4 separate regions of the Homo sapiens genome follow, and regions 1, 2 and 3 are each linked to region 4. The links are contacts of gene promoters, found by promoter capture Hi-C in human tissues and cell types (Jung and others, 2019). All regions are on one chromosome and are shown on one strand. Each heading gives the region's core, a stretch centred on a gene start or on the middle of the fragment in contact. The rest is flanking DNA. Distances are from core to core; before and after follow the strand shown. Region 1 overlaps LOC399975 (a long non-coding RNA gene). Region 2 holds the start of LOC105369571 (a long non-coding RNA gene). Region 3 holds the start of BARX2 (BARX homeobox 2). Region 4 holds the start of KCNJ5 (potassium inwardly rectifying channel subfamily J member 5).

Region 1 (7,311 bases), core at 4,266-6,765, 380 kb after region 4:
TTTCTCTACTGCTACCAGCTGGATCCTGTGACTTCTCATTATTGCTGAAAACCCTGCTCCATTTCTAAAAGTGACTCTAGCACCTCTCTATCATCAACAAATGTTTATTAAGTAGGAATGCTAGAGATACAGCAGGAGCCTAGACAAAGCCCTCACCCCTTGAGTAGCTCAGAGAGAGGGGGGTTATAAATTAAACACATGGCCGGGCACAGTGGCTCATGCCTATAATCCCAGAGCTTTGGAAGGCCAATGCAGTTGAATCACTTGAGTCCAGGAGTTCGAGACCAGCCTGGGCAACACGGTGAAACCCCATCTCTATTTAAAAATACAAAAATTAGCCAGACGTGGTGGTGCACACCTGTAATTCCAGCTACTTGGGGGCTAAGGTGGGAGGACTGCTTGAGCCCAGTAAGTCGAGGCTTCAGTGAGCTGAGATCGCACCACTGCACTCCAGCCTGGGTGACAAAATGAGGCCCTCTCTCGAAAAATAAATTAATTAATTAATTAAACAAATAAGCAAATAATAAATGAATATGAAGAAGACAAAATGGGATGATATAAAAGAAAGAGGTGGGGGTGCTACATATACAGGTAATCATGATGGTCTCTCTGGGAGAGGACGAAGGCAGCCATGACGAGACTTAAAAGAAGTACATGGCCAGGCGCCATAACTCACGCCTATAATCCCAACACTTTGAGAGGCTGAGGCAGGTGGATCCTTTGAACCCAAGAGTTTGACACCAGCCTGGACAACATAGAGAGACTTCGTCTCTACAAAAATTACAAAAATTAGCCCGGCACAGTGGCACGCACCTATAGTCTTAGCTCCTTGGAAGGCTGACGTAGGAGGATCACCTGAGCCCAGGAGTTCGAGGTTACAACGAGCTATGATCACTCCATCCTGGGTGACAGAGTAAAACCCTGTCTCTAAAAAAAATTAAAAATAAGTCATTTTAAGTAAAAGGAACAGCAAACACAAATCCCTAAGACAGAACGTGCTTTTATTCAAAGGGAAGAAACAATGTCATATACCACACACCCATAAGTATGGCCAAAATTTAAAACACTGACAACACCAAATGTGGACAAGGATGTGGGACAACAGGAACTCTCATTCACTATTGGTGAGGTTGTAAAATGGCACAGCCACTTGGGAAGACAGTGTTGCAGTTTCTTGCAAAACTAAACTTATTCTTAACATATGATCCCGCAATCGCATGCTTAGGTATTTACACAAGATGAAAACTTACTTATTAAAAAAAAAAAACCACACCCAGATGCTTGTAGCAACTTTATCCAGAGCTGCCAAAACTTAGGAGCAACTAGGATGTCCTTCAGCAGGTGAATGAATAAATAAACTGTAGTATATCCAGACAATGGAATATTACTCAGCAATAAAAAAGAAATGAACAATCAAGCCACGAAAAGACAGGGAAGAAACTTAAATGTTTATCCTAAGTGAAAGAAGCTAGTCTGAAGAGGCTACATACTCTATGATTCTAACTATATGACATTCTGGAAAAGGCAAAAGTATGGAAACAGTAAAAAGGCTGGTGGTTGACAGGGGCTGGGGAGAGGGAGGGATGAATAGCCAAATCACAGATGATTTTCAGCAGAGTCAAACTACTCTATAAGATACTATGATGTGGATACATGTCATTATTAATTTGTCCAAATCCATAGAAGGTACAACACCAAGAGTCAGTCTTTTTTTTTTTTCTCCTCTCAGAACAAGTGGGAAAAATGAGTGAATCCTAATGTAACCTATGGACTTCGGGTGATAATGATGTTTCAATGTAGGCTCATCAACTGTAACAAATATGCGACTCTGATGTGGGATGCTGATAATGGGGGAAGCTGCATATGTGTAAAGACAAGGGGTATACAGGAAACTTCTGCACCTTTAGCTCGGTTTTGCTGTGAACGTAAAAATAGTCTACTTAAAAAAAAAAAGGAACATCACTGAGACTGTGGCTCAGTGAACAAAGAAGAAAAGAAGAGAGAGCAGAAGATGAGAGCAGAGAAGCAGCCAGGAGCCATATCACACATTACAAACATTTTGGACCACATAATTTTTTGCTGCTGGGAGTTGTCCTGTGCATTACTGGATGTTGGATGTTTAGCAGCCACTTTGGCCTCTACCCACTAGATGCCAGTGGCAACCTACCCCAATTTGTGACAACCAAGAATGTCTCCAGACATCACCTGAGGGGAAAATCTTCCCTGGTTAAGAACCACTGATATGGAGCCTCATAAGCGACCAAAATGAAGGGTTTATTTCCACGGTAAAATGTTAAGTTTTTGTTTTAGCATTAAGTATATTGGAAAGCCAGTAAGCAGAATGATACGATCTGATTAACGTTTAACATTATTTTGGCTCCCGTGTATGGTAAGAATGAGGGGAAGGACAAGGACAGGAGTAGAAGCAGGGAAGTCTGCTGGCAGTTTGCCAGACGACAAAGCCTACTAGCCTAGCCTAGCCTAGGTTTTTGCCAGTGAAAAAAGTGAGATGTAGTCAGGTTCGGTTTATATTATAAAGGTGGAGGTGACCAGACTTAACATGAGATGAGGAGGAAAAAAAGAAATCAAGGAGGAGGAAGAATCCGGGGTTCTGGCCTGCGCAAGTGGTGGATGATGATGCCACTTACTGAGATGGTAAAGACTTGGGGGAGGTAGAGGAAGAAGTCACCAACAGGAAGAGTAATTCATAGCCCTCCTTTGTTCATGCTGCCTTTGAGGTATCCATTAGACATCCAAGGAGAGGCATGGAGTTACAAGAGTCTAGAGCGCAAGGGGGAAAAAAGTCAGTACTAGAAATAAGAATTTGAGCCTCATCGGCATATAAATGGTATTTGAAACCAAAAATTGGATGAAATCACCTGAGGGACATTCCAAATTTTCAAGGAGTGGGAAAGTAGAGATAAACTGGCAAAAGCATATAGAAAATGAGAATGAACAACTAAGAGGTCAAAACTAGTAAAGTTGGCCACTGTGAAATGCTGGTGAGAGAGGTCAAATAAGATACAAACATTGAACTGACCACTAGCTTTGGCAAGATCCAGGTCACTGCAGTCTTGATTAAAAACAATTTCATTGGAGTGCAATTAAAAAAAGAAATCAAGGATAAGGATGACTCCAGGGGTTCTGGCCTGCACAAGTGGTGGCTGATGATGCCACTTACTGAAATGGTAAAGACTTGGGGGAGAGAGAGGAAGAAGTCACTGGCAGGAAGAGTAATTCATATGATGAGCTCAAATGATCAGGCTAAAGAATCACTGGTGAAGAAGAAGGTACAGCAAATATAAACAACTCTTGAAATTTCTGCTGCAAAAGGAAACAAAAAAAGGACAATAAATGTAAATGAAGGGGATCCCAAGGTAAAGGTGGTTTAAAAGGTGTGATTTATTCATTTAAGGCATCAGTAGCTCAAGAGATAAAACTTTATTCCTCTCTCACCTAACCACCCAAAGATAAATGAGAAGTACAAGGCTAGGAGGCAGTTCTGCTCCACAAGATCATCTAAAAATCCATCTTATTCATCCATCCCCCGCTAAGGTATTGCCCTCACCTTTGCAGGTTGAATAATATGCCCCATCAGTGCATTAACATCCTACACTCTCATCTGCAAAAGGGGATAAAGAGAAAATAGAAAACGATTAGCTTCCTTTCTAAGGCTACAACCCAGAAATCACACATACCACTTATGTCCACATCCATTTAGCCAGAATTTAGTCCACATCCAACTATAAAAGAGAAGCTAGGAAATGCAGTTTCTAGCTGGGCCAACATGTGCCCAGATAAACCCTGAGGATCCTATATACTAAAAGGAAGCCACAGAGAATGGCATTGGGTAGACAACTAGCTATCACTGCTGCAAGTAACAAAAGGCATGGATGCTAACTGAAAGAGGATTCAGTAAAGAGAGAATGATATCTTAGGAAAGAAAACTGCTAGAATAGAAGACCTGTAGGCAAGAAGAAATGAGATCCAGGCACAAATGTACTGCCTCAGGAACAAGCTCACTTTGGTCTCTTGTCACTTCTCGCACGCTTTATTTTTCAGAAGGGTTATCCGTTGATTGCATTTCTAGTAAATTAAAGTAAACCTTTCCTTCCATCTACTAAATCAATTACGCAGAATGTGTGTAAAAATCTGGCTTTAATTGAGCAGTTCTTACTTGGGTTGTCTACCAACAGGTTGATTCAGAGCTGCTGCTTCTCCATCAAAGACAGAATGACCAAATTTCAGAGTTGGAGGGAGTCTACAAAGCCCATTTTACATGTTCAAGGTCACAAGGCTACAAAGTATCCTCTCCAATAGTACATCACAAGTCCTCAAACTGCCAGATCATTCCACTATCTCCTTGCTTACTTATAATATTCCTTTTCATAAAATAGTTTGTCTCCCCATGAAATGAACACCTCCTGAGGGCAAAGACTCAATGACACCTTCTTACCTATCTATCTTCCACTGCTTGAAGCATGGCAGGAGACACACAGATGTACTCAGTGGATACTTGTCAGTTCACAGATACAAAGAGATGTGGTTTCCCTTATCCTACTGTGTCAGGATTGCTATTCCTACTTAATCTGGAGGGCCACTGAATATAAAACAAGAAGGAAGGTCTGTCAGATTCTCCTTAGGTAGGTCAATGGAAACTGGACCTTTGGAGACAGAAATTACTTGTCCAAAGTCACAAGCTGTTTACAACAGAGCCAAGACAAACATCCAGGTCCTCTTGACTCCAGGTTCAAAACTCATTTTCCTGTTAAAAGTTGCTTCACTTTTTTGGTCTGTGTTTGATATCCTGGGTAATTACTGAACTTCACATGATATATTCTGCACAGCTACTGAAGATGCTACTCATCTTAAGAGTCCTTCAACCACCTATATTTCTCCAATGAAAGGAGGAACAGGAATTACTGTTTCCATGCTACACACAGGGAATAAAAGCAGTGGAGTCAAATGGCTTGCTTCACATCACAAGGCTGAAATCCAAATAAGGATTTTACTATTTTTAGGGCAAACTGATAGAATTTTCTAGAAGATTCTCTCCTAGAGTATGATGCTTATCTTTTCAAACAGAGACAAATTGGACATAACATTTCCATAATGAATGGTTCACACATGCTTTTCCTCTCAATGCTTTCCATCTCCACAGCCTCCAATATTATGTATATTATAATCCAGGATATAAAATAAAATAGTAAATAGATACATAGCCGGAAGCAAAAAAAAAAAAACAACTGTGTTTTGAAAGCCAGAATTTTACTTCTATTCTGAACATTCAGATTCATGTTTTTCTCATGAGAAATTAAACCAAACACCCATTTCTCACTTCCTCTTACTTGTCCTACAACAATCTCCTTTAAATACAAGACTAGCCCTCCCTTGTCCAGTAAAACTGAAAATATCTACTTTATAAAATCCTTACACTTTACTACCTTGGGGAATATTCCTGCTCAAGCTTCATCTCTCCAGATAGGAAACGTCTGGTTTGGTTTGTTTTTTAACCTCAAGAGAAAACTCTGTCGCATCTCATCTTCTTTAGGTCTACTTTTTTTGAGGTGCTATAATCAGAACACCTTTCCAGGTGCTGTTCCCTGGTTTTGTGGAAGAGCCCTTCTGCCTCCATCTCACTGTTCCACCGAGGACAGCGTGGGAACATCAGTGCCCTCCCCTGTCTCCTCTGGATCATCTCACTTCACTGAAGCATCAGCTAAGGCCAAGAAACTGTACAGTTTGTAGAACTGCAAGAGCCACAATGACCCCAATTCTATTTTGTTTAACTCAGAACAATGGCCTTTTTTATTTGCTCACTCTTAGTTTGAGATTAATGTTAATAAACCAGCATTTGAAGTTGAGAGGCACACCAAATTTCTCAACTGTAAGATAATTTAAATCAAATACTTCAAAAAGCAGTGTAATATAAAAGTCTCTGGATAGTAAACTAGATCTATTTAGAAAAAAAAAATTAGCTTTTATTATTTCAACTCTGAGAAGCATGCCATAAAGATGTTAATGCAAATCATAAGGAAGACTTTAGAGTACATATACATATGGGGAAAATTATCCAACCCTGGCCTAATCAAAACCGACTTTTCTCATTCATCTTTCTAAAAAAAAAAAAAAGCCAGTACCAGTACCAAAATAGAAGTGGTATTTAAATCCAATTTATAAACTTAAGAACATTATCGGGAAATTATCAAGAATCAGGATCTATAAAAAACAGAAGTATCTTTCCACCCATTCTTAATGATCTGAAGTCAGCAAGTGATTAATAAAAATACACTACAGCATACAGGAAATTTCTCAAGTTATTCCGCTTATCAGCTGTTAACTAAGTTTCAGCAAAGGAGAAAATTCTATAGCAAACAGCATAACACTCAGGAAAATAACTCTATAATCTGGAGGTGATGGTAATATAAAATATTTTAGGCATACTTTCAGGTTAGAGTTTCTAATCATCATCATCTATCACTTACTGAGTGCTTACTGTATGTCAGAGATTGTGTTAAGCCTTAATATGTACCATTTCATTTAATCCTCACTACAACCTTCCAAGGTAGATACTACTGATATTCCCTGGTCACAAAGGAAATCTCTGAGGTCCCACGACATTAATTAGTTTGTCCAGGATCAATGTTTATAAATATCATAGCTGGTATGTGAACTCAAGTCTATCTGGCTCCAAAACAAAAATTAGTACCTTTCCAGGATTCTTAACCTTATAATGGCTATGATAGGAAATAGCACATATGCTAATTAAAGTAAAAAAAAAAGTTAAGTCCTAAATCGGGGGTTGGAAAACTTTTCTTTTAAAGAACCAGATAATAAATACTTGAGGCTCTGCAGGCCGAGCTATGAAAGTACTCCACTCTGCTGCTGCACTGCCAAAGTAGCCACAGACCCAAGAATGAACGACTGTGTTCCTACAAAACTTTACTGAAGGACACTGACATTTGCGTTTTATATCATTCTCATGACATGAAATTTTATCCTTCTTTGGATTGTTTTCAACCATTTAAAAATATAAAAATCATTCTTAGCCATGGGCCAGATATGGCCTGCAGGCTACAGTTTGCCCATCCCTTCCCTAAATAATGCAGACAAATTTAAAATATTTTTTACTAAACAGTTCTTACAAATCATTAACTTGTAACCTCCTTTGGTATTGTGAACTGATACTTTAAAGAAGTTCAAAGTCTTGTCCAGCCTTGGCACAGGCCAGTAGTCCCAGCTGCTCAGGAGGGCAACGCAGGAAGATCGCTTCAGCCCAGAATTTGGAGGCCAGCCTGTGCAACATAGCAT
Region 2 (7,096 bases), core at 2,040-4,539, 410 kb after region 4:
TAAAATGGGGATAATAATAAGAGTCTTACAAGGCTGTCAAGAAAATTAAAAGAAATCATATATTAGATACCCAAGTGGAGACATACCCAGATGCAAGGTGGTTGACTAGGCTCCCTAGCTGGTGAGGTGACTCACTGTGAACTTTCTGCCACTCTCACAGTGTTTGTGTTCAATCCCTGCCTCAGCAAAATGATAAATCATTACATCAGGGACTTTCAAAGTCAAGCAAATAGTCAAAAACATACGCAGTAGGTTAAATCCTCAAATGCAAGAGTATACAGTCCTGCTCCCTGTTGACTTCAGCCCTACGGAGAAAATAATACCTCTGTTGATTTCAGCTTAGAGAAGCTTATTACCAGCAATATTATTCCCTACAGTCAGTGTTAGCCCAACTCAATGCCCCTTTCTGAACAGTACTCACCAGAGAAGACAGTCCAGCCAACTCAGTGATTACCAAGCAGCATGCGCTGGGTGGTGAAGGCTAAAGTAGCCAACTGACACCGTAGGGAGGAGAGAACTGGCCAAAGTATAATGACCTAAACTGGCATTTGGTCAGATCATGGGGATTTTCTGGCCCTTTGCTCAAACGCCTGGCACTGCACGCTTAGGTCTTTTGGAAACAATGTCATGCAATAGCATAACCTGAAAGAGTAATTTAGAGCAGTTTATTGGAGGTGATGCATTGTTAGTAGCCATATTTACAAAGAATACTGGCCTGAGAAATATTACAGTGTCCACTCTTAGATACCTCTTTGTGGCTAAGGACACAATCTTACTAAAATTGAAATAAGGTGTTACCAAAATACTCTTTGCTACCAAACTGGTGTATATGCAGGAGGAAAGCAGTTTACCTTTCCACCTTATGAAGAAACTTTTTGGATATCTTGTCTATCATCATTATTCATAAAATCTGTGAATCACCTACTACTTAGCTTCAAAAAGGTGGGACATCTTAAAGGATTTGATAAACTAAAAGAATTCTCACCTAGTTACTATGGAGGAAGTCTGGCTAAAATCCAGAATTCCACATATGATCCCACAAGATCTCTTCCCGGCCTCAGCTAAAAGATTATTTAGGCTATGAATAAGGAAAAAAATTACAATTCCATAGTTGAGAATTTCAAGGGATCGTAGAGGTCTTCCAGTCTAACTTCTTTTTATCTTTGTAGGAATTATGGCTCAGAGAGGATAACTTGGCCAGTGTTGAGCAGCCAGCTCACTTCCATTCAACATACGTTTACTGAATAACCACGAGATCCCAGGCATCCTATTCAATACTGGAAATGCAGAAAAGTGTGAATAGTAAAGAAGTGAAGAATATGAGTTAGGCATGCACGCTAGGGCCAGTCTCCTTGTATTCAGTTTTACATTCACTGCTTCCTAGCCACATGTCCTTAGGCAAATTACTTAACCTGTGTATGCTTCAGTTTCACCATCTGCAAAATAGGGTGAGGATGGGTACACACTCACGGATTGTCGTAAGATTTAGAAGAGTAATATACTCTAAGCACATAGAGCAGAAAGGTGCTTGGCACATAGTGAGAGCTCTGTAAATATGTGCTAATTAAAATACCAGGTTTCTGCCCTCTTGGAGCTATCTATTCTTTGTTTAGTCAGAGAGCACAGCATATCGGGGCTACTAGCCCTTGCCCCAGTGTGCTGGGCTGTCTGACTAAACAAATCTAATTGAATTAGTGTTATATGCAGCCTGAGGCCACAGTCTTAACTAGTTTGTCCTTGAGTCTCCCCACTCCACCCCACAATGCCTAGTACATTGCCTGGTACATGGTAGATTCTATCAGTATTTGATGAATGAATGAATGAATGAATGACACACAAAACTAAAGGGTCAAAGAACAGGCATCCCAAGAAATATTTGACTAGTTTCTTCAAGAATGAGAAGGAAGAGGCCGGGCACAGTGGCTCACACCTGTAATCCCAGCACTTTGGGAGGCTGAGGCGGGCCGATCATGAGGTCAGGAGATCAAGACCATCCTGGCTAACACAGTAAAACCCCGTCTCCACTAAAAATACAAAAAATTAGCCAGGTGTGGTGGCGGGCGCCTGTAGTCCCAGCTACTTGGGAGGCTGAGGCAGGAGAATGGCATGAACTCGGGAGGCGGAGGTTGCAGTGAGCCGAGACGGTACCACTGCACTCCAGCCTGTGCGACAGAGCGAGACTCCATCTCAAAAAAAAAAATAAATAAATAAATAATGAGAAGGCAGAGCAGCACTTCTTCACATAGAGAAGAGACAACGGATTCTAGGGAGCTGAAGCCACGAGAGCAAAAGCTTGGAAGCGTGAAGGTGACTAGCTTTCTCCCCCTACGTATATGGCCTGCTCTTCTCACTTGCTTTATTTGAGGGACTTGGCAGTTAGACCTAGGTGTTCTGGAATCTGCTGTGCTCAGCTTCTGATGTATTACACAGCACCATTCTGATGAAATCCAGTGCTAATTAAGATGCTCAAGAGGTTATCAGCTGCCCTTCTCTTTAGCACATGTTCATTCAGAAGGAGCTGGCTGATTTCAGAAATCCAGCAGGAATTAAAGTACCGAATGTGTATTTTTTTTTAGTCCATCTGTTCATTGTGAAAATTTGATTACATTTTATTGTTGATGTAATAGATATTTTCCTTTTGTTGGATCCTCCTCCATCAGAAGCTGGATTGAATTATTTACCTGTGGGCATTATAAGTCACCTGGTGGTTCTTATGTCAGCGATATGTGGTTGTCACCCAATATCCGTTCTTCCCTTCTCCTATTGCAAGAGCATCCCCAATTTTTTTTTTTTTTTTTTTTTTTTTTGAGATGGAGTCTTACTCTGTCACCCAGGCTGGAGTGCAATAATGCCATCTTGGCTCACTGCAACCTCCACCTCCTGGGTTCAAGCAATTCTCCTGCTTCAGCCTCCCGAGTAGCTGGGATTACAAGCGTGTACCACCATGCCCAGCTCATTTTGTATTTTTAGTAGAGAAGGGCTTTCACCATCTTGGTCAGGCTGGTCTCAAACTCCTGATCTCAAGTGATCCACCTGCCTCGGTCTCCCAAAGTTCTGGCATCACAGGCGTGAGCCACCACGCCCGGCCCAGCATCCCCAATTTTTATCTGGGCACAGGGACACTCAGAATAAAGACAACATTTCCCAGCCTCCCTTGGACCCACATATGGCCAAGTGTCTAACTAGACTTGGTATGTTCAACCTCCAAAAAAATGCGTTTTAGAAGAGACATTCTCTTCGTCTTTCTTTACATCCTCTACTCTGGGTGGAATATAGATGTGATGGTTTAAGTTAGAGCAATCATTTCAGATCTTGCTCAGTGACCTTGGGAATGGAAAAAATCCACAGGGAATAAGTAGGAGAAGCTTGAGTCTCTGATACCCCAGGGAGTGCGATATGGGGATGTCTATCTCCAGACTTTTATCTGAGAGTGAAATAAGCTTCTGTCTTTGTTTAAGCTACTATAAGTTTGAGTTCATTGTTGTTTTTGTTTCTTGCAGCCTCATGGAATGCTAATTAAAGCAGCTTCCTATTGTTACCTACTGTACCATCTCCTTTGCAACCGCCAAGTCAGTTATTACTACACAGAATGAAACCCAAAATTTGATAATCGTCATTACGATTATGAGGATGAATGCACTGCAAAAACTTTGCCTCTTCCTTCCCCATCCAAATGATCACACTGTGAATTTCATGAACATTTTTATTATTTTTGGATTACCTCATTTGCATTCTATGAATGTCGATGATTAAGAGTTGGTCTGTGAGTAGGAGAGGAAGTAAGTGATAAAATATGTAGAAAAGAAGTAGAAATGTTACTGCAGCAATTTCAGTAGAAGAAAATAGTAGACTGTCTAACAGTATATAAATCATGGTGCTGTCATAATGCAGTGCTATGCAATGATTAACAATTGTGTTCTAGGCTGGGCGCGGTGGCTCACACCTGTAATCCCAGCATGTTGGGAGGCTGAGGCGGGTGGATCATGAGGTCAGGAGTTCTAGACCAGCCCGGCCAACATGGTGAAACCCTGTCTCTACTAAAAATACAAAAATTAGCCTGGCATGTGTGGCATAAGCCTGTAATCCTACCTACTCAGGAGGCTGAGGCAGGAGAATTGCTTGAACCCGGGAGGGGGAGGTTACAGTGAAATCGCACCACTGCACTCTAGCCTGGCCGACAGAGCAAGACTCTGTCTCAGAAAAAAAAATTAAAAAAATTGAGTTCTAGAATAGTATTTATTGCTTTGAGAAAATTAACAGAATATTTTGTCAAATAAAAAAGTAGGTTGTGGCCAGGCGCAGTGGCTCACGCCTGTAATCCCAGCACTCTGGGAGGCCGAGGCGGGCGGACAGCTTGAGCCCAGAAGTTGCCTTGGCAACATGGCAAGACCCCATCTCTACAAAAAATACAAAAATTAGCCGGGTATGGTGGTGCATGCCTGTAGTCTCAGCTATCTCAGCTACTCAAGAGGCTGAGGCGGGAAGATTGCTTGAGACCAGACAGTCGAAGCTGCAGTGAGCTGTGCTCACTCTATTACACTCCAGCCTGGGTGACAGAGAGAGACGCTCTCTTCCTCTCTCAAAAAAAAGTAGGTTCTACAATAATATGTAAACACACATATAAGTTTATGTGCATATATACATAAATTTATATTTCTATATACATAGAAAAAACATGATGTGTAGACATGAAAATGTTAACAGTAGATAACTCTGACCAAGAGGATTATAGATGATTTTTACTTTCTTCTTTTCTGTTTATTTGTATTTCATAATTTTCCATAATAAACACATATAATTTATATACATTTTAAGTTTTTAGGAAAGCAATTCTTGGGTGTGGGCAGATGAAGAAATAAACCCTTGCACATGTTTAAGGTTTGTATATGGCATTAGTCAGAGCAATGTTAAGCTATGCTGCAATAACAAACAAATCCGAAAAGCTCAGTGACTTAGCACAACGAAGTTACACTTATACTTCTTATTTATGTAGAATCCAGTGTGGGTCTGCAGAGACAGCCTTCCATCTGATAGCTCAAAGATCCATCTCCACTTGTAGCTATCAAGGTCACTGCAGCGGGAGAGAGGGATGAAGAAGATACTTACAGCCATAGTTTACATCACCTAACTGCAAGGGAGGCTGCTGGGACATTGGAGGACGTGTACAGGATTCGATTGCACAGTCTCTGCCACATACACCTTCAGTGATTATGTTTTCTCAACCAAAAATTAAATTTATGGGAGGATAAGCAAATAGTTGGGTTTAGGGTTCATTTTTTTAAATATGCATATAACTGAATATATGGTTGCATATTTGCTACAGGTTTTTATTTATTTATTCTAAGATGGCGTTTCACTCTTTTTGCCCAGGCTGGAGTGCAATGGCGCGATCTCGGCTCACTGCAACCTTGGCCTCCCGGGTTCAAGTGATTCTCCTGTCTCAGCCTCCCAAGTAGCTGGGATTACAGGTGTGCACCACCATGCAAGGCTAATTTTGTATTTTTAGTAGAGACGGGGTTTCACCATGTTGGCCAGGCTGGTCTTGAACTCCTAACCACAGGTGATCCACCTGCCTCGGTCTCCCAAAGTGCTGCAATTACAGGCATGAGCCACTGATCCTGGCCGCTACAGGTTTTTAAATAGTCAAAAATGGACTTGTCCATGAGGAAGGAGGAGGAAATTGGGCTGAGATGAGGCCAAAACTAAAAGTTGCCCTCTTCTCCCTCCTGACTCTTTAAGTTAAGCAACCTACCCATGCATCATGCTCCTGTTAATGCACAAAAGTAGGTTTCAAACCATAGTGGGAGTTAGAAGATGGAAGACCGAGGACTGAGACATGACAAGGGCTGACCAGAAGAAGAAATGAGGATTTCTGAGGGGCCAGGAAGCATGATACAGACCTCTCCCCTGAGACAGTGAGAATACCAGGAAGAACGGTGAACCAGCCAGAAAGTGGGGAGGAGAGCCAAGGTCCAAAGAGGACGGAGAAAGGAAGACTGCCAGATTTGGGCAGTGCCAAAGGCAGGAATTACAGTCAGAATAGATAGCCAAGAATGTAGGGTGTGGATGGAAGTGGGATTCGAGCAATTTTTTTCTCAAGAAACAGCAGGCTGTGATGTGTAGTCAGTTTGATTTAAATGATCATGGGGTAAGACAGCCAACAGAAAGCACCCCAGCAGTACCATGGCCCACAGAAAGAGCCCACAGTCTAAACTAGGGAGCAGCGCTGCATGGAAAATCCCCGGCTGAACTGGGCATAAATCCAGACATAAACTGGGGACAGGCAGTGGAGACATGCTGAAGATGGTTGACATCAGGGAGGCAGCAGGTATTCCAGATGATAGGAATGGATGAATCAGGATCTCAGCAAGGGGGCTGGGGGTGGCGAGAGCAAAGTCCAGCCCCTCGAAAGAAGGATCTAGCAAGAGATACTGTGATTGGGGCCCCACTAAAGGACAGGGCTTCACAACAGGTGGCGCTCCAGAAGTAGAACTGGTATGAAAACGAGGAAAATAGTCATTTTAAGCACGTAGGAAGAAGGGAAGGAGACTGTAGCCTTGGGGATATGTGGTTGCCTGGGGCCTCACCTCTGAGAAAGTGAACGCCAAGACTAGGACAGAAAGACCTACAATTTTTCTCTTGCCTAACTTGGTCTGCACTAGCTTGAGAATGTAGTGTTGAGCCTATGGATTGAAGGCATCAGTGCCTGAAGCAAAGCAGGTTTGGTGAGGCTGGATGCGGAACTGCTAACAGAACTTGCACATCATTTGAGAAAGGCTTTCCTAAGACAGCCTCATAAACAGGTACACGGCTCGCCCACCTGCCCTTTTCTACTGGGAAAAGCAGTGTTCAGGTGCACAGGTAACGTTAGTTAGTGACGCAGAGAAATAGGATGGGGGAAACACCTAGATTAGCCAAGTGTGTTAGTCGGTTTCCATTGCTATAAATATCAGCTATTCCACTGAATACCTGAGAGAGAGTAATTTATAAAGAAAAGAGACTTATTTGGCTCATGGTTCTGCAGGCTGTACACAAAGCATCATGTCACCATCTGCTTCTGGTGAGGCCTCAGGAAGCTTCCAATTATGTTGGAAGG
Region 3 (6,370 bases), core at 850-3,349, 480 kb after region 4:
TCTATTTTCTCACGCCTGTAATCCCAGCACTTTGGGAGGCGAAGCGGGTGAATCACGAGGTCAGGAGTTCAAGACCAGCCTGGCCAAGATGGTGAAACCTGGTCTCTACTAAAAAATACAAAAGTTAGCCGGGCGCGGTGACAGGCGCCTGTAATCCCAGCTTCTCGGGAGACTGAGGCAGGAGAATCGCTTGAACCTGGGGGGCAGAGGTTGCAATGAGGCGAGATCACGCCACTGCACTCCAGCCTGGGCGACAGAGTGAGGCTCGGTCTCAAAAAAAAAAGAAAAAATCTATTTTCTCTAACAGCCTAATGATTAGTCCTCTGGGCGTGTCCCTCCCTCCTAGTTTAATCACCGGCCCAGGCGCCCTCATTTACTTGCTTCCGCGGCCACCAGGGCCCCCTGGGCAAGCAGCTCCGCAGAGAGCCCGCCGGCACTCGCGGACGCTTCTAGGCTGGGAGCGGGGAGGAAATGTCACCGGCCCCAAACTCGGCCCTAGGGAAGGCCATCCGCGTCTATACTTCTCAGTGTCCCTGTCGTGCGTTTTCCTTCCAACCCCATGCACACTCATTCCAACATAAAGTCGTGGAAACGGGCGTGCACTGGGCTGTTCCCGCCGAACACCGGGCGCGACTCAGGCTGCCGGAGGCTTCCCGGGCGCGGAGGCTCGGCGGGGTCCCCTTTACGCAGCAATTCCAATGAACAACTAAAGTCCGTACAGATTTTGATTGGAACAGACCCTAAGACTAAGAGCCTGGAAAGAAAAAGGCAAATCACCCAATAAACGCCTGTCTTCGCGACTCTCTAACCCGGTCGTATCGCGAGGGATCCGGATATTGAAAGCCCCTTTGCCGGAAGACTCGGGCGCTGGGAGAAGCCCGCATGGGACAGGCTGCCCCAGTGCCCGCCGGCTCCCTAGAATCGTGCAGCTCTGACCCTTTCCAACGAGGAAAAAATGTTTTTATAAACAATGTTTTAAAAAAAACCGCACACTTTTTTAAAAAGTCAGAATCTCGCTCTTGTCGCCCAGGCTGGAGTGCAGTGACGAGATCCCGGCTCACTGCAGCCGCGAACTCCTGGGCTCAAGATTTCCTCCTGCCTAAACCTCTCCAATAGCTGGGACTACAGGTTTCCTCTTGCCTCAACCTCTCCAGTAGCTGGGACTACAGGCGTGCACCACCATGCCTGTTTTTAATTTTTCTTTTGTAAAGACAGGGTCTCCCTATATTGACCAGGCTGGTCTCGAACCTCTGACCTCAAGCTATCGTCTCACGTCGGCCTCCCAAATGTTGGGATTACAGGCTTGAGCCACCGCGCCCGGCGATAACTCACACTTTTATTAGTTTTTCTTTTCTTATCTTTTTTTTTTTCTCAGTTTTTTATGAGGGTAACGGACGGGGCCAGGGTCATTTATGATTTGGGATCTTGGGGCAGTCAAGTTTGCAACTTCAGCTCAAAAGTCTTACGCTCGGAGCGCGCAGGCTCAGCGCGGGCTGCGAGACTGCGAGTGGAGGGCTTGGGAAGCCGCGGTCTTCGGGAAACCGTCCACGCGGGGAAGGAGAAAGGCACGGTGGGTCCTCGGGGGCACTGGCTCTGTGGCCCGAAGTCCCGGGAGCCTAGTGAGGACTAGACTTCTTTCTAGTAAGAGACCTGAACGTGCCCTCCCGCTGGGCTGCGGACACTGGGAGCCGGGCCGGCGGGTGGCAGGACAGGCAGTAAGGTGCTCATGGGGAACACTGCCCCGGGGAGCTACCGGCCTGGGCCTTGGCCGCGGGCTGGGGCGGTGCGCGCTCCCCGCACCGCGCGCACACTCCTGCACACACACCTGGAGCGCGTCCCGGGGGGGAGGGGGAGGAGAGCCAAAACGAGCGTCTTAAAATAGAGAGCCAGGCAGAGGAGCGCGAGACACCAGAGCGGGAGGCAGCGACTGAGAGCCGCCGGGCACTAGGCGCGCAGGTCGGCGCCGGAGTGGCACGGGCGGGCGGGGGCGGGGTGGGCGCGGACGCCCCTCAGCACACACTCCGCACCCGGCCCTGCAGGAAGCTCGCGCTGATTGACAGCTGCGTTGTCCCAAAAAGGCTCAGCGAAGATGCTGATCTGCGGGTGGGTCTAGACGCGCGGCAGGCGCGCCCGCTACCCGCTCTCCTCCGCGCGCCACCCGAGCCCCGCCGCCTCCCCAGCTGCCGGGAGCGGGGCCCAGGCCCCGCCGTCGCGCCAGCCCCGCGGCCCCAGCGGGCCGGGCACTCGCAGCCGCGCTCGGGCCGGCGGACGCTCGCGCCGGCTCACCATGCACTGCCACGCCGAGCTGAGGCTGAGCTCGCCCGGCCAGCTCAAAGCAGCCAGGCGGCGCTACAAGACTTTCATGATCGACGAGATCCTCTCCAAGGAGACCTGCGATTACTTTGAGAAACTTTCCCTCTACTCCGTGTGCCCGTCGCTGGTCGTGCGACCCAAGCCCCTGCATTCCTGTACGGGTAAGACGCTCCGCTAGGGGATAAGTGGGGTTCGGTAGCTTTCACGTCCGTGTAGGTGGCCTGTGCTTTGCGATCCGAGGGCGAGAGGAAGGGTTAAGTTAAGGGATTCTTTTCCTGCGCCTCAGCAAGCGGTGGGCATTGCAAAGGCATCTGCGACGTGGCCGGGAAGGACCACGCAAGGTGTGGATGGCACGAGTGGAAATAAAGGCGGCAGGGCCTTAGGAGTGGGCTGCTCGCGCAACGCCTGATTGTCCTGCTCGGAGGAGAACGCTTCCTCGTTTCCTGCTGAAAGTTCAAACACTTGAGCAGGTTCAGCGTCTAAATCGTTGTTTCAGGAAGTGGTGGTGTGTGTGAATTTCAAACTTGAGCTTGGCGGCCTTGCATCTCACCTTGAGTTAACTTGTCCAGCCTCCTACTGTCTCCACTGTGAATTTTGCAAGTAAATCAGTATCCTGAGGTTCTCAACAAAATCTCGAATTCACTGAGCTTTGCTTACAATGATCGCCCTCTGAGAAAGTAGTTCTGAAGTACATTGTCTTTGTGGCACAAGCCGAAAAGGTCACCCTCGTTTGTCTTAAGTCAAGCCGAAAAGGTCACCCTCGTTTGTCTTAAGTGACCAAAACCAGCAATGGTAACAATGAAAACATTACTCACACCTGGTTTTCTCTCTTCACGGGAGGTAAGAGCAATAGTAAAGATAAAGAGAACTTAATACATATATTGAAAACGTAGTAGAGTTTCTATCGAAAATAAATCCAAGGTACTTTTAAAATTTTGAATGCATTAAGAGAAGATCCAAGTTTCAAAGTATCTCGGCATTGTTAGGATTTAGGTTATGGAACATGGGTATAATAAAACGAAAAAGAAGTAGGAGCACTTTTTATCAGAAAAAAGTTATTGAGTGTGCTTTCCATTAAAGGTAAGCATAAAGTATTTCCAAACCAAAAGAACCTTTGAGATTGTTAGTTGCATGAGAGGCATGAGATAAATTAAATTACACTTAAAATGAAAAAATGAAGGGCCAACAGTTTTGGAAGATATTTTTTGGAACATTTGAGTTGTTAATGCTCAATGCGTGGAATCCTGTATTTTCTCTTGGTTCCATTGATAGTCCCTATATGACAATCAGTAAACATATGATAAATACATACAGTGAAGTTCTTTTAAAACCAAATTGTTCCTACATGTATTTGGTTGTAAAATGTATACTGTATTCAGTTATGCCTTTTTAAAGTTAATTTGTCTGTAAGGTAGAATTAGGCCTGATGTCCCATAACAAGCCTTGTAATACTGAATTTTTAAAACCAAGAAATATATGAAACAAGGAACAAATAAGAAATTTTAGAAACAAGATAGATCTCCTGAGAACTGATATTTTTACATTTGTGTATAGGTGGTTGTGGACCCTTGGACACATACATACTGAATAGGGGTGATAAGTTGAATATTGTTTTGAGCACAAATCATCCTTTGTTATAATAACTCAATTCCCTTCGAGGAAAAAGAGAGGATCTGTTTCAGTCATTAACATTGCGTATGGGACATTCCCAGGACAAAACAGAACAACTTCTAAGCACCTAGGTAGAGCCTAGTGCCGGCAGAATTTTCAGTGACTTTGTGCTGTGTTGACTTGAAGGCAGCTTTTCCTGGCTTATAGGAGTCACAGAATTGGATCATAGAAGAAAACGTGGCAGAAGAGGAGTAATAAATAGCTGCAGAGAATAGTCATTCAGTCAGAGGTGGCTGAGTAAGTGTCGTGTTTTATTGAACCTTGTGTGGGAAATAAATCAGAGGAAAAAAAAATGATTCATATGTAGTTTTGTGAGTGTTATAAGTGAAATGCACGTATTTCACAGACTTAAGTGTTGCTCAGTCTTGTGCTTTTCGAAGTTCACTGATGGTTCGTGGTAGAGGGTGGCTGTTGGCAATGGTTTTCTGGCTCCGTTATTCCAGTACTTTCTTCTTTCGGATTGTTAGTTGAAAATGTGTCGTTATTTTGCTCTAGTTGAGAATTAAAATATAGAAACTGGGATTTGCTGGTGGAATTAAACCCATAAAAACTGGCTACAATAGTTCATACTTTCAGATCATAAGCCTTCAGTGGGTTTACAGTTACAGTTAAAGCCTTACATGTATTAGATCATGGGAATCCCATTAGTGTCTTCTCAGGGGTTTTGCAAATACCATACTTTCAAAGCATTTTTGTTTTTAACAGTTAAGGTCAGGACAAAAATCTTTGATTAGATGAATGTAATCTTTTTTCTTATTAATTAAAAACAACAACAATAAGTTGCTGGCATCCCAAAGGACACTGTAATTTTCTTCTTTTCTTTTCTTTTTCTTTTTTTTTTTTTTTTTTTTGCTAGATGGAACTAAATGTTGAGCACTGGTGGTGGAAGCAATGCATAAAAAGTTCAAGTGAAAGGCATACATTGGAATTAAAGTTACTGAACTTTCTCAGCCTTTCATTTGCTGATTTAAGATTTAAAGACGTGTAACAGAAGTGAACTGTGTCAGGTAAAATAATGAAAACTAAGAGAAAAAAAAGGCCTCAAAATTAAAAAGTTACCAGCATGTACAATAAGTGCATAAAATTGGGATGGAAAGAAAACTACAGCATTAAAAAAAAAAAAAACACTGCATAATGAAACAGTTCATGCTCTGTGGATTTAGTAACCTAAAGGTCAATTTATGGTACCAAATATCAGGCAGAATAGCATGTATTCAAGCAAACTGAGAAATGGGAATAGTTTTCATCTCAGGCAGATAATCACCTGACAGGAATTTATTGTTCGACATTCTAGCCTTGATGGAATCCTCACCTTCCAAAAATTGTTGTTTAACAGACGCTTTCTTATTATAAACACAATAATTTTAGTCTTGGAAAGATGTCTCTAAATTTCTCTCGGTTTCCTAGTACGTCTCGTAAATCATCCTAATAGACACTGCAAAAGGGAATCCTTTCCCTGTAAGCCTCACCACAGAACGGTTTATCATCACATTTAAACTAAAATTTAAACAGCTAAGCCCAAAAGAATGCCTCCATTTGAAAAGAGTTGTGTCATTCAGGCCATTGGTGAGGGGTGGAATATGCTTAGAATTAAGTTAGTATATAAAAAGTTGGTTTTATTCTTAAATCTGTAAACAGTAATCCCTACTCAGAAGGCAGTGTAATGCCATTTAGAAATCAGCGATGAGCTCTCCAACTTCAGAGCATTGACCGTCATTACAAAGGCCAAAAGAGAGGTGCATTTTAGGATATCATAAATACACTTCATTTAGGATGCTTTATTTTCTTTTTCCGGTTGTGATTAATGTTTCTTGGTGGAAAAGCCCACTTGAAGAAAGCTGGTTTCTTGGGGTAGAATAGTTTGTGGAAGCATCGGCGTGGTCATTTTTGAAGCCTCTGCCTTTCTGTCTGATCTTTAGAATCAGGCAGTTTCTAAATTTGAGGCGTGTTGAGAAAAAATGGATAACTTGCTTCACAAAAATAAGGATTGTTACAATTACCCTAAGGGTTTTCACATGAAGATACTGATAAATGAACCTATGGTACTAATTACTTTTATTACAATTTTTTCTACTTAGAACCTAGAATTACCTTACATTTACACATGCACATTTGTGGGGAGGTGAGTGTAGATACTTGGACATTTTACAGCCTGCGAATAGGATGAGACTTTTAATTATTCCACTAACCTATAATCTAATTCTTTTCCCCTTCTCTGGCAGAATGGGTCTGTTGAATCTCTTACCTGTCTGATCTTTGGTGGTTAGACCTACAGAGCTGGAGAGGCTCATAAAATCATAGATCAATATCCTCAAGCAGAAGGTATTTTTTGCAAAGTGCCAGGGTCACGTCAGTGCTTCGTTATAGTTTCAGTCCACTGTATGCC
Region 4 (6,528 bases), core at 117-2,616:
GGCAATCAGGAGGCCCACTCTGGCCGGACCGCTCTGTGCTCTGTCCCAGGGGAGGGTGCCTGGGCAACGGGCTGTGTGTACGCTGGTCTCCGAGGCAAGAGGACCCCCAGGCCACTGTTAGAGACTAAGTTTCCCTGTCACTGTCCTTACAGGAGAGGATGGACTTGGTGCCCTCCAGTATTAGTGACAAGCATTTTTCTCATTGCAACGTAATAAACCAGTTTTCTGGTCGTAGACATCATTCACCTAGCACTTGTGCTAGGTGCTAGGGCACCCCACGTTTGACCAGCTGTGTCTGCCCTGAGAGAGGGGGCTGGCAGGGGGGGTGTTGACCCCAAAAGGCTGGGTAACGGAGAGGGGCCAGAAGGAACACCACCGGGTGAGAAGGGCCACCCCGAACAGACCGGTCCTCAGAGGCACCTGCCGGCCCTCCCCAGACAGCAGCCCTCCCTTTCAGCCTGCCCTGGCAGCTGCCTTTCCTACGGCTTCCACGAATTAAAGAACACACTCTGGTCATCATCTGTCCTCAAGGCAGGTAGGAATCCAAAAGGGAGAGCCGGGAGGTGGCGCGGAGGACGCCGGCTCTGCCCACGCCTGGGCAAGGTTGAGCTCCGTTCCCTCCGGGCTGCTCCCGCCTCCTGTCCGTGCAGGGCGCGTTTCCAGCCATCGCCGCCCAGCCGCCGCCGCACGCCGGGGAGAGATCGTCCGGGGTGAGCAGCGAGCCCGGGGACAGCTAGCCTGGGTCCTGTCCCTGGACCTACTCCCCCTGCAGCTGGCGGATCAGGCCCCCGGACCCTCACTCCACGGCGGGAATCAGAGCCGTCGGGCGGGGGATGCAGCGCCCAGACTGTGGCTCCCCCGCCTTCCCAAAGGAATCCCCCCATCTGCTCCATCCCTCTCGGGAAACGGCGAAATGCTGCCAACCGTCCGCTTAGCGCACCGCGGAGCGACTGAGCAGCCCCGCCGAGGCTCCGAGCCAAGATTTCTGCCCTAATAGTTTCTCCCTTCTTTCTGTCTGCTCCACCGCACCCACTAAATACGCGGCGCTCACACACGGACACGCGTGACACGCGGCGCTCACACACAGGCATGGGACGCTCACACGCGCGCGCGCGGGTCTCCGTCCCTGGCACCCCGCAGCAGGGGTGCAGCCGGGGGCAGGGGGAGCCGGGGGAGGGCGCAGGGGGCCGCGGGGACGCGAGCGGAGGGCTGGATGCCTGCCGGGCTCTCTCTCCGCCTTCCTCTTCCCTCCCAGTCCTGCCGAGCTGACGGCGTCCCGGATCACATGGAGCCCCCGCCCCACCCCAGCCCGCCCCCCGCCGCCAACGCCGGTGGCCCTTCCAGTCGCGTTACTACCCAGAGATTCATTTGTACCAGGGACGGAGGGAGAGAGGAGAGGGAGGAGGGGACACACACACACACACACACACACACACACACACACACACACACAGAGAGAGAGAGAGAGAGAGAGAGAGAGAGAGAGATTGTTCCAGCTGCTCTCGCTAGAGAAAGGGAGTGACCCAAGGGGCCGCGAGTGAAGGGACAGGATGGCTTAGGTACCTCTGCCCACAGGACCCCACAACAGGGAGAGGTTCCAGCTACAGCTCCTCCGTGGGGTCATGGCAGGGGCTGGGGAGTCCCCTCAAAAGCCCTGAGCCCCCCTGCACCGCCGCTAAGGGACACCCCAGAAGTTAGCATCAGTGGGACTCGGAAGCTCCGATCTCAACAAGTAAGTTGTCTTCTTTTCCTCCTCCATTTCTCCCCCAGCTCGCGGGTTCTGGAGGGCAGGATGACACCCTCAGGTGTCCATCACCTGGGCAGCAGGCTTTCACAGGGAACCTGCTAGACTGGGAGCCAGGGGGGATAAGGAAAAGCTTAGGGCAGGTCCAAGTTTAGGAAATTGGAGATCTCCGTGGCTGCAGGCTGCCCTGTGCGTTGGGAGCCCAGCCATAAACACCTTCACTTCTGGCACTAGACCAGGGCTACCTGGGGGTGCCCCAGATCTCCCAGCAGTGGTTTGAGAGGCAACAGTGGCCAGGAGTGGGTGGGGTGTGGAGGACATTTTTCACCTGGTAGGACTCTTCCTTCAAATGGGAGCAGGGAGGGCCAGGATGGGGGGCGGTGCCCCCCTCAGCCTTAGATCCCCAGCCTAATCTTGCTTTCTCTTTTAAGTGTGGCCAAACTGGAAACACGGCCTTGTGATTTCTGCCCCCCTCGCTGCCCAAGTCACTTCCTGCGTACCTCCCTATCTCCTTTTAAAGAGCTTTCAAATGGTTCAGAAAGGCCAGGGGTCAAGCCTGTGAGGACAGAGGATAGGGAACAGAGAAGGCCGGCCTTGTCATTGCTCCCCTTCTCTTCAAGTCAGTGCTTCTCCCTGCAGAGCTGTTGGCCCCCTGGTTTTATCTGTGCCTTCCCTCAAACAGGGCTCTCCAACCCCAGGGGCTGTGGAGGGCCTCAGGTCCGGCCCCCAAAGTTCTAGGGCCTACCCTGAACATCAGGGTGAGCAACACCAGCCCAAAACCTGTTCCAGGAGCCTTTTCAAACACCAGAAGAAGATCAACAGGAACACGCCAAGTATTTTACTCTGTTTCAATCCTTTTAATAAGCTGAGATTATCATCCTCATTCTACAGGTGAAAAATTGAAGCCCAGAGAGGCTGTGCAATTTGCCTCAGGTGCACAGCTCATAAAGGGAGATTCTCTCCTATATCTGACTCCAAAATGTGCCTCGTTTTCATCAAAAGCCATATGGTTTATCGGGCTTTCTGGTTCTCAAAGCACTTTTCCATGTGAGGAAAAGGCTAATATTTATGAAACCAAGGTGCCGAGCTATATACGTTTACATGAGTTCATCTTGACACCAGTCCTGTGGGGCAGAGCTTATTTCTTCTGTTTTATAGATGAGAGTAAGGGTAACAGAATTCCAGGCACTAAGTGGCAGCAGCACTGCTATCTCCAAAACTCTTGTCCTCTGGCTTTAAATCCAGGGTCTTTCCACTAACAAAAGCTAATTCTGAAAGCTGCTCTTGTCTTTCCACATCCCTGCTTTTCCTCAAAGCCAGGTGTAAATTGCATCATCTGGCTGAATGAGGCGCTCAGGCTTCCTGGAATCTGAGGAACGAACAGGGCAGAGCAAATGATGTGGGAGTTAGAGGCCCATGGTTGGACTCTGGCATAAAGAGTTTGGTCAGCTTGGCTGGTATTTTAAACTATCTATGGACCCCACCTGAGATGGCACCATTCTGCCTAGAGGCATAAGGCCTTCAGTGGGAGGCCTGGGGCACAGCGTATGTGCTTCTTGGAAGAGCAGCAGCAGGGCCACCATTGAAAGACAGGAAACAACACATAGAGAAATTGCTGGCTCAGGAGGCTGAGGTAAGGGGATTACTTGAGCCCAGGAGTTCAAGACCAACTGGGGCAACATAGCAAGACCCCATCTCAAAAAAAAAAGAAATAAAAAAGAAAAAGAAAGGATAGAAAATTTGCCTATACATTCCACAAAGCACAAGGATTGTCCCCAGAACAACGTTCTAGACCTACTACCTAGCTCTCCAACAGAAAGGGAACCAGCCACTCAGGCATGGCTGTTTTCTGGCCTCTCCAAAAGCTGCTATAAACTGCCGGCATTACTCACAGGCAGCATTTTTTAAGTAGCCTGCCTGTGCTCTATCCAGTGAGCAGTTCAGCTAAAGGAGGAGCCAAGGGTGAGGGGGGGGGTCAAAGCGAACCTGGGCCACATTCACTCTGCCCAGGGCTGTCCCCAAAGCTTAGCTGTCTTCTCTGGGATGAAGTCAGATCTTAGTGGGGTTCCCCACCATGGCTTCCCTGGAGTCTGCTGGCAAGTCCTGAGCAGTGCAGAGCTCTTTGTCTGTGGGTCCAGCAGAGACACGTGTGTGGCCCTGTCACAGCAGTACTCAGCCTCGCTGTCCCTGGTGCCAAGCAAAATCCCTTTGGGGCTTTCTGCAAGCACCTGACTGGGTTTCTTGTCCAGGAATTTGGGAGACTCTGAAGGCTGCTCTAGTCATCCGTGATGAAGTAAACCCCCAAGGAGGGAAGAAACGACTAGAATGCCCATTCTCTGGTTTCCATTTCCCCTTCAAATGACCTGATTCTTCCTGCCTGCGGTGGGCGAAGCCACAAACAGGTGTCCTGTGCTTTCATGTACTTGAAAACTGCATCCACTTCTGCATTGTTTTTTTTTTTTTTCTTGTTCAACAACCATTCATTTGGTCACCTATCATGTGCCAGCAATCATTAATTTTTGAAAACCTTGGAATGTGATCGTTGGGGCAGCGTTATGCTTTTTGTTTAGGAGAATGTTAGCAAACACTCACATTTTCTGAGCCAATACTGATTGACTATTTAGGCTGGAGGTGGAAGGATGGTGGAGAGAAGGCAGGGGTCAGGGAATCCATAGGTAGTTCAAAGGGGCCATTTTTGGATGAAAATGTTCACTGTGTATGAGCTATAGACAGGTCATTGAGGGCTGGCAGTGTTTCCAAGTGCGGATCTGTCATCAGATAACTGTTAAGATAGTCGTCAGCCACGAAGGAATCTTTCTGTGTTTTGTTTTTATTTTCTAAAGAAAAAAACAAGAAGAATGGGAGTTCCAGTTCAAAAGATTGTAGTGAGGTATTTGAGTAAGAATACCTGAGTGTATTTCTCAAAAAGACTTGTGAAGTGGCTTTCCCTGGAATTGTTTTAAAACAGAGTGGACAGCTTCCACTTCTGACATTCTGCCAGCCAGGGCTGGCGTGAGCGGCTGCCTCTGAAGGCCCTGCCTGTGCAGCAGCAGCTTATCTAGTTCCTCCTACCTTGACATTCTGATAAGGGAGCTATTCTAGTCAACAGGGCCCAGGATGGCGGGAACCCTTGCCAAGAGCCGTGCTAAGTTAAATGGTAGAGCCAAAGCTTTAATATGTGACCCTGGAGATCCTGGCTAGTGCTTAAAATGTTAACTTCCATTATCGTTCCAGGCCAGAGCAAGCTGAGGGCAAAGGTCATGGATCATCTGAACAGTTGGCAGGTGGCAACGGCACTTCCTGGTCACCAGGGATCAATCAATAGGGTGGCCAGATAGTATGGGGGACAGGAAAGGGTGAGGGTGGGGGAGAAATGGAGGGGTTGGGGAGGGAAGGAGAGAGCAAACTTGGAGTCTCATTCTCATCCCCTGTGACTTGGCGGTCCGGGGCTGGGTGTACTGCTCACCCTACACCTTCTCCCAGATTTCAGGCACCCGACTTTACAGTCAGGGAGGTCCAATGCCATCATCCTACATTATTTCCTGCTGCTCAGAAAGGAAAATGGGAGTGGGGTGCAGTGCAAGAACCAAGAGGACCTCAGATGCCTCCTGGGACCAAACCTGTGTCTTCCCCTTAGAGTGTGCCCCCACCCCCCCCCCAACCCCAGGGATGACTGCACTGCTGAGCACTTGGTGCCTGGAACCCTGGGCAGTGGGAGGTGCTGCTTCTGCTTCAGCAAGGGGGCTGTCCAGCAGTGCCAGCAGAAGCCATGGGTGTCAGGCCCCAGGAACCAGCCCACTGGACATCACAGTATGAAGGCTTCCCCGGCCAAGTCAGGTTGCTTTGTGAAGTGTCCTTCTCCAGAAGAACTCCCTCAAAAATGAGTAGGGAGCTCCTAACACAGGCCAGACCTTGTGTAGGCACCTGAGCTAGACAGGGGGATCTTCCACACCGGGCCTGCCTGCCCTCTGAGCTCTCAGACCACTGCCTGGGGGCGGGCAGAGCTGCTGGAGAGACTCCAGCATCCGTGCTGCGCGCCCTTAGGGAGAGGCACAGGCATCGCCGGGGCGAAGGCAGGCTGCTCTTATGGAGCAGGGAAGGCTTCTAAGGGGGCTTGAGAAACAGGTTTGCTGGTGAAGGGGTAGAAGGAGCCCAGGGAGGGGTTTGGAAAGGAGGGAGCCAAGGCCAGACACAGGGCAGTAGGAGGGAGGCCTGGGCCTGCGGCTGTCCCAGGGCACCTGCCCCCAGCCCCAACCACCTCTCCTGCATCTCTTTCAATCTCCCCTGACTCCTCCTAGACACTCACGCTTGGTCACATTTTATTTCCTTTCTCTTCCTCTCCCTCTCTCTCTTTCTCAGTTTGGTTCTTTTTTTCCCCTCCATTTTTGTCTTTTTTCACTCATTCTCTTGATCATAAATGCCGTTTAGTGTATTTATGCTTCTTTAACTCAATCTCTTTGTCTGCTGCAGTCATTCTTTATTTTTCCACTAAATGCTTTGATTTTGAGATCATTATAGATTCACATGCAGTTTCAGAAATAATGAACAGAGATCTGCCATTCCCTTCATCCAGTTTCTCTCAGCGGTAATATTTTGCAAAACTGTAGTACACTATCAAAACGAATACATAGCCAATAAGAAAACAACATTTCCATCACCAGGAGGACCTCTTATGTGGCCCTATTATAGCCACACCCACTTCCATCCCACCCCACCCTCTCCTTAACCTCTGGCAACCACTGGTCTGTGTTTGTCATCTCAAGAATGTTATGTAAGTAGAATTA

The links. The method cuts DNA at HindIII sites, captures the fragments that hold promoters and counts their contacts. A contact is called where the count stands out against the background at its distance.
Region 1: a fragment that was not itself captured here is called in contact with the fragment with the promoter of KCNJ5 in region 4 in 1 of the 25 tissues and cell types used here (pancreas).
Region 2: a contact is called between a fragment that was not itself captured here and the fragment with the promoter of KCNJ5 in region 4, in 2 of the 25 tissues and cell types used here (dorsolateral prefrontal cortex and liver).
Region 3: a contact is called between the fragment with the promoter of BARX2 here and the fragment with the promoter of KCNJ5 in region 4, in 1 of the 25 tissues and cell types used here (aorta).

What each region holds. Positions count from the first base shown.
Region 1 is chr11:129,268,789-129,276,099 of GRCh38, forward strand. The region is part of intron 1 of LOC399975 (a long non-coding RNA gene); the gene reads right to left. It also overlaps a transcript of ARHGAP32 not described here. Among named protein-coding and RNA genes, the nearest start is that of ARHGAP32, 80 kb to the left of the region's middle. The HindIII fragment of the contact is 6,553 bases long and covers 2,240-7,311 here.
Region 2 is chr11:129,302,437-129,309,532 of GRCh38, forward strand. It overlaps LOC105369571 (a long non-coding RNA gene), which reads right to left and starts at 470. Exons shown (of 3, transcript XR_948174.3): 1 at 422-470; 2 at 246-305. It overlaps LOC105369572 (a long non-coding RNA gene), which reads right to left. Exons shown (of 3, transcript XR_948175.2): 3 at 4,889-5,071. The HindIII fragment of the contact is 3,938 bases long and covers 1,321-5,258 here.
Region 3 is chr11:129,373,749-129,380,118 of GRCh38, forward strand. It overlaps BARX2 (BARX homeobox 2), which reads left to right and starts at 2,100. Exons shown (of 4, transcript NM_003658.5): 1 at 2,100-2,474. The coding sequence starts at 2,288. The HindIII fragment of the contact is 19,007 bases long and covers 1-6,370 here.
Region 4 is chr11:128,889,990-128,896,517 of GRCh38, forward strand. It overlaps KCNJ5 (potassium inwardly rectifying channel subfamily J member 5), which reads left to right and starts at 1,367. Exons shown (of 3, transcript NM_000890.5): 1 at 1,367-1,732. The HindIII fragment of the contact is 9,287 bases long and covers 1-2,822 here.